Regions from separate parts of the Homo sapiens genome. Here region 2 is linked to region 1. Evidence: promoter capture Hi-C in human tissues and cell types (Jung and others, 2019). All regions are on one chromosome and are shown on one strand. The core of a region is centred on a gene start or on the middle of the fragment in contact, and the rest is flanking DNA. Distances in the headings are between cores, read along the strand shown. Region 1 holds the start of NACA (nascent polypeptide associated complex subunit alpha). Region 2 overlaps RBMS2 (RNA binding motif single stranded interacting protein 2).

Region 1 (5,083 bases), core at 1,912-4,411:
CAGCCTGGGCAACATGGCAAAACCCCGTCTCTACAAAAAATACAAAAATTAACTGGGTGTGGTGTTGTGTGCCTGTAGTTCCAGCTACTCGGGAGGCTGAGGTGGGAGAATCGTTTATGCCCAGGAGGCGGAGGCTGCAGTGAGCCATAATCACCCCACTGTACTCTAGCCTGGGCAACAGAGCCAGACCCTGTCTCAAAAAAAAAAAAGGAAAAAAAAATACATCCTTCCTTGGCTAGTCATTACTACAGAGAGAGGAAAAAGTAAGTGGGCTTGCTGGGGAAGAAAGAAAAATTGTGAATATGTACTTTTGTCTAAGGAAATTGGCTATTTCTGGTCCTTCTGAAGGTAAATGGACTAAAGGACTGCATTGAAAATCTTCCAGATCATGTATTTATTAGGTAGAAATTGATTATGTCTACAATTTAATAGTAACAAACTTTTTAAGTTTTATGTAAAGATTACATGGGATAATTTTATGAGATAGACTGTTTCTTTTTCCTTCCAATTAGAGTGTGAGTGTGTGTGTGTATATATACACACAGACTAATTTAATCTTCCAAACAATCCTATCAAGCAGCTACTATTTTTCCCATTTTACAGATCAGGAAACTGACATGAATATATATATAGGTTAATTGCCTAAACTGACCTAATAGATTTAGACAAAGGAGTCTTATTTCAGAGTCTGTCTTTAATGACTCCACAATATTGCCTCTCCTATTTGAGGAGGATTTCAGAATTTCCCATTCCTGGTAAACCCCACTATCTCACTTAATTTTAATTCACCAATCCTAATCCTCATTTCACTACGCTAAGGATTTCAGAAATGTTAAAGTAGCTTTCAAAGCATTTTAAATTTTCACTGCTTCCCTTAAAAGGCGGCCACACCAGGTATGGTGGCTCACACCTGTAATCCTAGCACTATGGGAGGCCGAAGCGGGTGGATTGCCTGAGCTCAGGAGTTCGAGACCAGCCTGGGCAACACGGTGAAACAGGAGAAGTTTTGTGGCAGGAGAATTGCCAGAATCCGGGAGGTGGAGGTTGCAGTAAGCTGAGATCGCGCCACTGCACTCCAGCCTGGGTGACAGCGAGACTCCGTCTCAAAAAAAAAAAAAAAAAAAAGGTGGCCACAGTCGTCTTAAAGCTATTAAATCAGGCCAGGCATAGTGGCTCACACCTGTAATCCCAGCACTTTGGGAGGCTGAGGCAGGCGGATAACCTACGGTCAGGAGTCCGGGCGGGGAGGCGGGTACCTATAATCCCAGCTACTCTGGAGGCTGAGACGAGAATCGCTTGAACCCGGGAGGCCGAGGTTGCAGTAAGCCGAGATCGCGCCACTGCACTCCAGCCTGGGCGACAGAGCGAGACTCCGCCTCAAAAAATAAATAAATGTTGACTGGTTTAGCTAATTCAGGTACAGCAAATATTTGTTGAGTTCTTTTGTAGGGCTGTGGGAAGATATGGGAGGCTTTTCATTAACACAACACTGATTTTACATTCTACTTTTCAAAAATACAGTTGTACAAAGCATGGTTTAAGGTGGGGTCCCAGACACCTAGAATAAATAAGCTTAGAATATCCAAGAAGTGCCAGGGGCGGTAGTTCACGCCTGTAATCCCAGCACTTTGGGAGGCCGAGGCAGGCGGATCACCTGAAGTCAGGAGGAGACCAGCCTGGCCAACATGGAGAAAGCCCGTCTCTACTAAAAATACAAAAAATAGACTGGCGTGGTGGCGCATGCCTGTAATCCCAGCTACCCGGGAGGCTGAGGCAGGAGAATCGCTTGACCCGGGAAGGGGAGGTTGCAGTGAGCCGAGATCGTGCCTTTGCACCCCAGCCTGGGCAATAAAAGTGAGACTGTCCCAAAAACAAAACAAACAGGCTGGGCATGGTGGCTCACGCCTGTAATCCCAGTAGTTTGGGAGGCCGAGGCAGGCGGATTACCTGAGGTCAGGAGTTCAAGACCAGCCTGGCCAACATGGTGAAACCCGTCTCTACTAAAAATAAAAAATTAGCCGGGGGTGGTGGCACACACCTGTAATCCCAGCTACTCGGGAGGCTGAGGCGGGACAACTGCTTGAGCCCTGGAGGCGGAGATTGCAGTGAGCCGAGATCGTGCCACTGCACTCTAGCCTGGCCGACAGAGCGACTCAAAAAAAAAAAAAAAAAAATCCAAGAAGTGCCCAAAATAGCAAGCAAAGGAATTGTATATGTGCCTATGTTCTTTTTTTCTGGGAAGGAGAATCTGCAGCTTTATAATTTCAACATCGGCTAAATTGTCGTGAACCTAAAACAATCAAAAGGGCCGGAATCTATTTAAAGAGTTTATTCAAGGGCAGTGTGAGGATGGACCAACCAGAAAACCTCCAAAGAATGGAGTCAGCCTTCAGAAGTAGAGAAGTTACGATTTCATTTATTTAGGGAGACAGAGGAGTTTTTAGCTGGATTACGTTATCCATACAAGGTTGGAACATAATTACAGAATTTGGTTACAAGAAGTGTTTTTTTTGGGGGGGGGGCGGGGGTACAGCTAACATTGTTTTACGAAGAGTTTAACACGCATGAGTTGCTGTCATCTGGTGACATCGTTTGAGTCTCTCTAGTCATTGAACAGAACAAGAAAAATCGAATTAAATTTATAATCTGAACTGAAGTTATATGTGACCCATCACATCTCTCAAGTTTTAAAATGGGTTTTTTTGTTGTTGTTGATGGGGGGGGAGAGGGTCCAGCAGCTTTTAAATGTTTTCACATCGTGTGTTCCAAAAATAACTGGTTAGCCTAAGTCACTTCCACCCTCCAATGTTGTGAATGCAGTCTCTAGCATTCGCTATTTAATGTCTTCTTCCTGCACTATTTGAGAAATCGCGAGGTCGACTTAATACCGCAGTCGCCACTTCGCGGACCGGAGGGCGGAGTCTGCTTAGTTCTGAGGACTGCGTGGGTCCGCGCAGAGAGCTCCTGCTAGGCCTGCGCGTCCCGTTCTAAATTCTTACCCTTTAGTCCTTGTCACCACCCCCGCCGTGGGAACGGCCTGACAGTCACTCGTCAAAGGAAGTGGCTGCCGGCAGCTCTTGACCCGGAATCGGATCCTAGTCCCACCCCCTCCGCTCCAGGCTTCCTTCTGCAACAGGCGTGGGTCACGCTCTCGCTCGGTCTTTCTGCCGCCATCTTGGTTCCGCGTTCCCTGCACAGTAAGTACTTTCTGTGCCGCTACTGTCTATCCGCAGCCATCCGCCTTTCTTTCGGGCTAAGCCGCCCCGGGGACTGAGAGTTAAGGAGAGTTGGAGGCTTTACTGGGCCACAGGGTTCCTACTCGCCCCTGGGCCTCCGGACAAAATGGGGTCTGCGGTTGGTGTCCTGGCAAAAGCAGGGTAGAAGGGCTGCGGGGCGGGCCCAGAATCCGAGCCTGCAGAGATGGGAGCAGTTGCAGTGTTGAGGGCGGAAGAGGAGTGCGTCTTGTTTTGGGAACTGCTTCACAGGATCCAGAAAAGGGTAAGGGGTCACAGCCTTAGAACCTGTAACACCGTTCTCCCTGTGACAAGCAAGTGTTGGACTTAAAACACCGTCTTTCCCCTCCTGGTACCCCAAAGTCGGCAAACGTAGTCCAGGAGGCCCCAGCCCAGCCAGTGTGAGTATTAGGAGTGGAGGGGGTTCACAGTAGCGTCTGAAGTCTCCCATGATCGAGAGCCAGCCCGGGATCCTCTCCCTCGGGTTGAGAATGCAGTGGGAATTGCTGGCCTTGATAGAGGCGTGAGGGTCACATCATATTTACCTCTTATTCCCAGGTGCTTTGGGGAAGGTTGTCACCAAACACCCTCACGATTTTTTTCTAACAGCCCTCCTCGGAGTTTTTAAGAATACTTATCTCCGGGTTGGGCAAGTGAATGTATCCCAATCAATTTAGGCCTCCTTTTTATTCCCTTCCTTCAGAAATGCCCGGCGAAGCCACAGAAACCGTCCCTGCTACAGAGCAGGAGTTGCCGCAGCCCCAGGCTGAGACAGGTAGGTTTCCCTACCCTCCTTGCCATTAATTAAAATTAACCCTAAAGCCATTTGGTGGGCAAAATGACCAAGGGGAAATACACTTTTTAGGAGGATGGGGTTGCAGCTTTACCAAGGAGGATAGACCGTAAAATTACTATCCTGGAGATACTTCTTTAGGGATTTGGAGTAAAAATAATATTTTTAAGATTCGTGGACGTTAAAAGTACCCTAGCTTGCTTTCTATGTTATGCCTGTCGCCTCAAAAGAAGCTCTCCTGTGGAACCCCCACCTCACATAGGAAAACTCAGCAGGGAATGGGCTCAGTGATTCTTACCTATTGGAACTAGATGACACAGGCCAAGGAGCCCGGAGCATTTGTGAAACTCCAGCCAGCAAGTTGCATCAAGGTTTTAGTTAGCAGAGCTTGGCATTGTGCCTTTATCACATGTCTGGATGAGATGTGTGCTGGTGGTAAATGTGTCCTACTGGGCCCCAGAGTCGTCCTAGGTCGGATAACTTGTTTATGGGTTGGTGGTGCTGAGATACTTCTAGTGTGCTGGAATAGTTCCTGCATCATTGTGTGAAACCCAGGATTGAAATAAATCCTTTTATCCTCAGCGTCGAAATTAACGACTGTGAAGGCTAATTTTAAATTCTGGTTAAAACATATCTCTGTAGAAAACTTAGGAGGAGGTAATGAAAAGTTCTTAAAATGATAGCCTTTCTGAGTCAGTTGTGCAGCGTTAAATGAAGGAAATCTTCAGGCTGTAATTTTCATTCTCACCTTTTTGGTTTTTTTTAAATTTCATTTGTTATTTAAGGGCAATTCCTGTCCCTTTTTGGAGTTACAGTAGAGTTGCTTATAGTTGAAAGCATAAAGTTTCTTCCCACCTGTTTGATTTTAACAGCTGAAGGGATTAATACAGCTGCTAGGAAGGACAATAGGGGGCTCTAAGCTGGAGTATAAACAATATGAAATTCTTGAAGTACAAGGGGCTTAAGGAAGGGAAAAAATAAAGTACTGTTCTCTAAAGATTCTGTAATTTCAGTACAAAACGAGATTTTAGAGATTGTGTCATTGAACAACTTAATT
Region 2 (5,083 bases), core at 130-2,629, 160 kb after region 1:
ATTTTGGTGATAAGGCCAAAGGGCTGCATATCCTTTCTTCTTCTTCTTCTTCCTTCTTCTTCTTTCTTCTTCTTCTTCCTCTCCTTCCTCTTCCTCTTCTCCTCCTTCTCCTTCCTCTTCTTTTTTTTTTTTTGAGATGGAGTTTTGCTGTTGTTGCCCAGGCTGGAGTGCAATGGTGTGATCTCAGCTCACTGCACCCTCCGCCTCCCAGGTTCAAGCGATTCTCCTGCCTCAGCCTCCCGAGTAGCTGGGATTACAGGCGCCTGCCACCACACCCAGCTAAGTTTTACATTTTTACTAGAGACGAGGTTTCACCATGTTGGCCAGGCTGGTCTCAAACTCCTGACCTCAGGTGATCCACCCGCCTCAGCCTCCCAAAGTGCTGGGATTACAGGCATGAGCCACCACACTTGGCCAAGTTATAGATTTTTGTCCAGTAAAAATGCAAATTATTTCTGTGCAGTAGATAAAATAATTGCAAAGGTTAGTGGCTTTACTATCCTATAGGACATAAACCAGTTTTTATCTAATGTAGCAATCTTATTCCAACATTCTTTCTTCATTTCCTATAAATAGTTCCTCAAATGCTCTTTGAACTCATTTTGCCATCCTGCTGGTTCCCTCATTAATGAGTTATAAAAATCTTTGACACATATTCATTTTATATTTGCATGACAGTTGTGTTTTCTTTTTGTTTTCTGAAACAGAGTTTCACTCTTGTTGCCCAGGCTGGAGTGCAGTGGCGTGATCTCGGCTCGCTGCAACCTCCGCCTCCCGGGTTCAAGCGATTCTCCTGCCTCAGCCTCTGGAGTAGCTGGGATTACAGGCATGCGCCACCACACCCAGCTAATTTGGTATTTTTTAGTAGAGATGGTGTTTCACCATGTTGGTCAGGCTGGTCTCGAACTCCTGACTTCAAGTGATCCACCTGCCTCAGCCTCCCAAAGTGCTGTGATTACAGGTGTGAGGCACTGTGCCCAGCCTAACAGTTGTGTTTTTCAACTTTTTGAAAATTATACTTTGGTAGCAGAGTCATGTGGAACTTCTAAAACTTGAGTAGTAGTGTATCACAGATCAGGGATTATATTAGAAGCGTTCCACTAGAAAAAAGCCTCTACATTCCACTCCAGGAGGGTGAAAATATTAAAGAGACAGAACAGAAATCACTAACAAAGTCAGAAGTACAAGAGCTAACTGAAAATAGTTGTCAGGGAATGAATTTGAGAATAATACCCCAAACAAGCAATTTTCCCATCTCTCCTTCCATCCCTAAAGAACATATGATGATTGATTTGTTTTCACTCCTTGGCGGCATCTCACTGACTTTTTTAGTAGAACTTCTGTGATCCAAAGGATTAGACAGAATAAGCCAAGCAATGCCCTGAAAGCTGGGAACAGAACACATTAAAAGGAGGGTGAGGATGGATGTGGCTATCCTAGCCCTTCCAGGCTACACACTTGGATTCATTCCCAAATTGAGGCAGGGGAGGGACTCATGAGAAGTCTGACTGTGGGGCAGAGGACACAAGTGCTGCTATCCTTATGAAGGCCCCAGGGTGGAGCTTGCTGTGGTCTAGCAGCTGAGACTTTGAGCTCAGAATTTCCACTGCAGCTGGCAACAGCTGGGTCACTGCTGCTGCTTCCTTGAAGGAGCCCCTCCGAGAAACAGGAGTTCCAGTCCTAGACTCCACGCCTCTCCTTCCCACATGCCAGACTTTAGGATCCAGCAATATTTACTTCCTCTACAACCCAGGGAGAGACAACTGGGACAAAGGCAGGAAGTCCGTCTACGCATGAGAAACATCCTTCCTAGAAAGGCTTAACTCCCTGCTCACAGCGGACAGAGGGCTCCACCCACCTGCTCTGCTCAGCCTCCTAGTCAGGACTCCTCTGGCACCTCTTTCATTCCTGCCTCACTCCTGCCTCTCCACAGTCCCCTTTTGGGCTCCTTACTTCGATCCTACATGCTGCCCTTGACTATACTTATGCTTCAGACACAGCAAAAGATAAGGCAATTGTTCAGAAAGGCAAAATAAAAATCCCTCTGTATCTGTGGGTTTCCCACTTGTGGATTGAACCAGCCATGGATTGAAAATATATAGGAAAAAAAAAAAAGTCTTTCTTCTAAGAGAGGTTCAGGGAAAAAAAACTAAAAAAATAACTGTTGGGTACTATGCTTAGTACCCAGGTGACAAAATAATCTATACACCAAATACCCAAGTCCCGAGTTTACCTATGTAACAAACCTGCACATGTACCCCTTAACCTAAAATAAAAGTTAAAATGTTTTTTAAAAGAAAGGATGGTTGCATCTGTACTGAACATATACAGACTTTTTTCTTGTCATTATTCCCTAAACAATACAGTATAACATTTATTTACATGGCATTTGTATTGTATTGAGGTATCATAAGTAATCTGGAGATAATTTTAAAGTATATAGGAGCATGTGCATAGGTTATATGCAAATACTACACCATTTTATTTTATTTTATTTTTATTATTTTGAGACGAAGTCTTGCTCTGTCACCCAGGCTGTGGTGCAGTGGCGTGATCTCGGCTCACTACAACCTCTGCTTTCTGGTGGCGTGATCTCGGCTCACTGCAACGTCTGCTTTCTGGGTTCAAGAGATTCTTCTGCCTCAGCCTCCTGAGTAGCTGGGACTACAGGTGCCCACCACCACACCCAGCTAATTTTTGTAGTTTTAGTACAGACGGGGTTTAACCATGTTGGCCAGGCTGGTCTCCAACTCCTGACCTCAGGTGATCCACCCATCTTGGCCTCCCAAAGTGCTGGAATTACAGGCATGAGCCATCATGCCTGGCCACTATACCATTTTATCTAAGGGACTTGAAGCCAGGCTCAGTAGCTCATGCCTGTAATCCCAGCTTTTGGGGAGGCCGAGGCAGGAGGAATGATTGAGCGCATAAGTTTGAGACCAGCCTGGGCAACATGATGAAATCTCATCTCTACAAAATTTACAAAAAATTAGCCAAGCATGGTGGTGTGTACCTGTAGTCCTAGCTACTCAGGAGGCTGAGGTGGGAGGATTGCTTGAGCCCTGGAGGCTACAGTTAGTTGTGATTACACCACTGCACTCCAGCCTTGGTGACAGAACAAGATCCTGTCTTAAAAAGAAAAAAAAGCGTAGGGACATGAGCTCAGTGAATTTTGGTATCCATGCAGGGGGACAGAGGAGGTCCTGGAACAAATCCCCCCCAGATACTGAGGAACGAATATATGGTAGTCTAATCAAGATTCTTCTCTGAGCGAGGCACGGTGGCTCACACCTGTAATCCCAGCACTTTGGGCGGCCGAAGTGGGCAGATCACCTGGTCAGGAGTTCGAGACCAGCCTGGACAACACAGTAAAACCCCATCTCTAGCAAAAAAAAAAACAAAAATTAGCCCGATGTGGTGGCGTGCGCCTATAATCTCAGCTACTTGGGAGGCTGAGACTCAGTCTTAAAAAAAAAAGATTCTTCTCTGTCTTGTGATGTGAGAGAATTTTTGTAGCACATTATATTTAGTACAAGAAACAAAATTTAGAAATCAAGGACCTATATTAGTATGATACTCTTTCGCTCCCTCAAAAACCAACATTTCTGCTAATTCCCACCTCTCAAAAATTACTAGTCCAAGACAGTCCCCTTAATTCCACTTACATACCTTTCTAGCAAGGTAAGCTGAGATAACGGACCAGTTTTAAAATTTTTTTTAATATATATTTTTACTATATTTTTTATAGAGACAAGGTCTCACTATGTTGCCCAGCCTGGTTTTGAACTCCTGAGCTCAAGCAATCCTTCTGCCTTGGTCTCCCAAGGTGCTAGGATTACAGGTGTGAGCCACCACGCCCGGCCCAAGGACCAGTTTTTTATATACACCAGACTTTATTTTTTATTGCTTATTATTTTTTGAGCTGGACATCTGTGCACTCTTGCCATTTTTCCAACATTCCTAATTGGGCAATTCCATGAATCAAATCTACTAAAAAGAACTCCGAAGGGTCTTCATGGGGTAGATACAGAATAATTGTTCCTATCTCCACCTTCTTTATCTGCTAATTTGAGGTCTCCATTCCCAAGGAATATCTCCAGCAGCAGAAAGTCTCCAAAGTGCATGATTTGATTGGCGAGTCCCACTTTCTTCCATCCCCACTGCCAGCTCTCTCATGCCTTCTAATTAACATCTATAGAGATATTAAACTTCTCTATTCAAGGTGTAAGGACAGCAGTCTTTCCACTAAGACCATCAGGTTGGGGGAGGTGCTGGAAATAAAGTTGGATATTAGGCTTTAAAGGCCAGTCCCACACTGGCTTTCCTTAGAGAAACACATAAAGGCTTTATAATATATATCAGTAGCAGGTAGATTTTTATTTATTTTTATTTTTTTGAGATGGAATCTCACTCTATTGCCCAGGCTGGAGTGCAGTGGCATGATCTCGGCTCACTGCAAGCTCAGCCTCCAGGGTTCACACCATTCTCCTGCCTCAGCCTTCTAAGTAGCTGGGACTACAGGCACCCGCCACCATGCCCGGCTAATTCTTTTGTATTTTTAGTAGAGACGGGGTTTCACCATGTTAGCCAGGATGGTCTCGATCTCCTGACCTCGTGATCCGCCCGCCTAGGCCTCCCAAAGTGCTGGGATTATAGGCATGAGCCACCGCACCCGGCCAGTAGCAGGTAGAATTTTTTAAGAGGCTGCTGAGAAAGTTTGTGTCTATGGAGTAGAAACAAAATGCCATTGCCTTTTAGGATAAGTGAGCTGGCAAGGCCAGGAGTGGTGGCATGCATCTGTAATCCCAGCTACTGAGACAGGAGGATCACTTGAGCCCAGGAGTTCAAGACTAGCCTGGACAACATAACGAGACCCTGTCTCAAAACCAAATCTATACTGTCCCTGGAAGCCTACGCACATGTACTCCAACTTACGGCTGACACAGCTTGACAAGATCTTGGTCAGTAGTGCCTGGTTGCAATCCTCGGATGTATAGGTTGGTTTTGCTCAGCTGGTCATTTCCATTGCTTCCACTACTGCTGTTAGGTGTACTGTTGCTTGGGCTAGGTGGTGCCATCTGCT

The links. Contacts are between HindIII fragments. The study calls those that stand out against the background at their distance.
Region 2: a fragment that was not itself captured here is called in contact with the fragment with the promoter of NACA in region 1 in 1 of the 25 tissues and cell types used here (aorta).

What each region holds. Positions count from the first base shown.
Region 1 is chr12:56,723,377-56,728,459 of GRCh38, reverse strand. NACA (nascent polypeptide associated complex subunit alpha) reads left to right here and starts at 3,161. Exons shown (of 9, transcript NM_001365896.1): 1 at 3,161-3,197; 2 at 3,937-4,008. The coding sequence starts at 3,939. RefSeq lists enhancers at 3,086-3,215, 3,306-3,355, 4,415-4,534. The HindIII fragment of the contact is 10,398 bases long and covers 1-3,354 here.
Region 2 is chr12:56,562,436-56,567,518 of GRCh38, reverse strand. RBMS2 (RNA binding motif single stranded interacting protein 2) reads right to left here. Exons shown (of 14, transcript NM_002898.4): 2 at 4,936-5,083. Among named protein-coding and RNA genes, the nearest start is that of RBMS2, 43 kb to the right of the region's middle. RefSeq lists a silencer at 1,467-1,516 and enhancers at 1,100-1,637, 1,638-2,176. The HindIII fragment of the contact is 6,603 bases long and covers 1-4,680 here.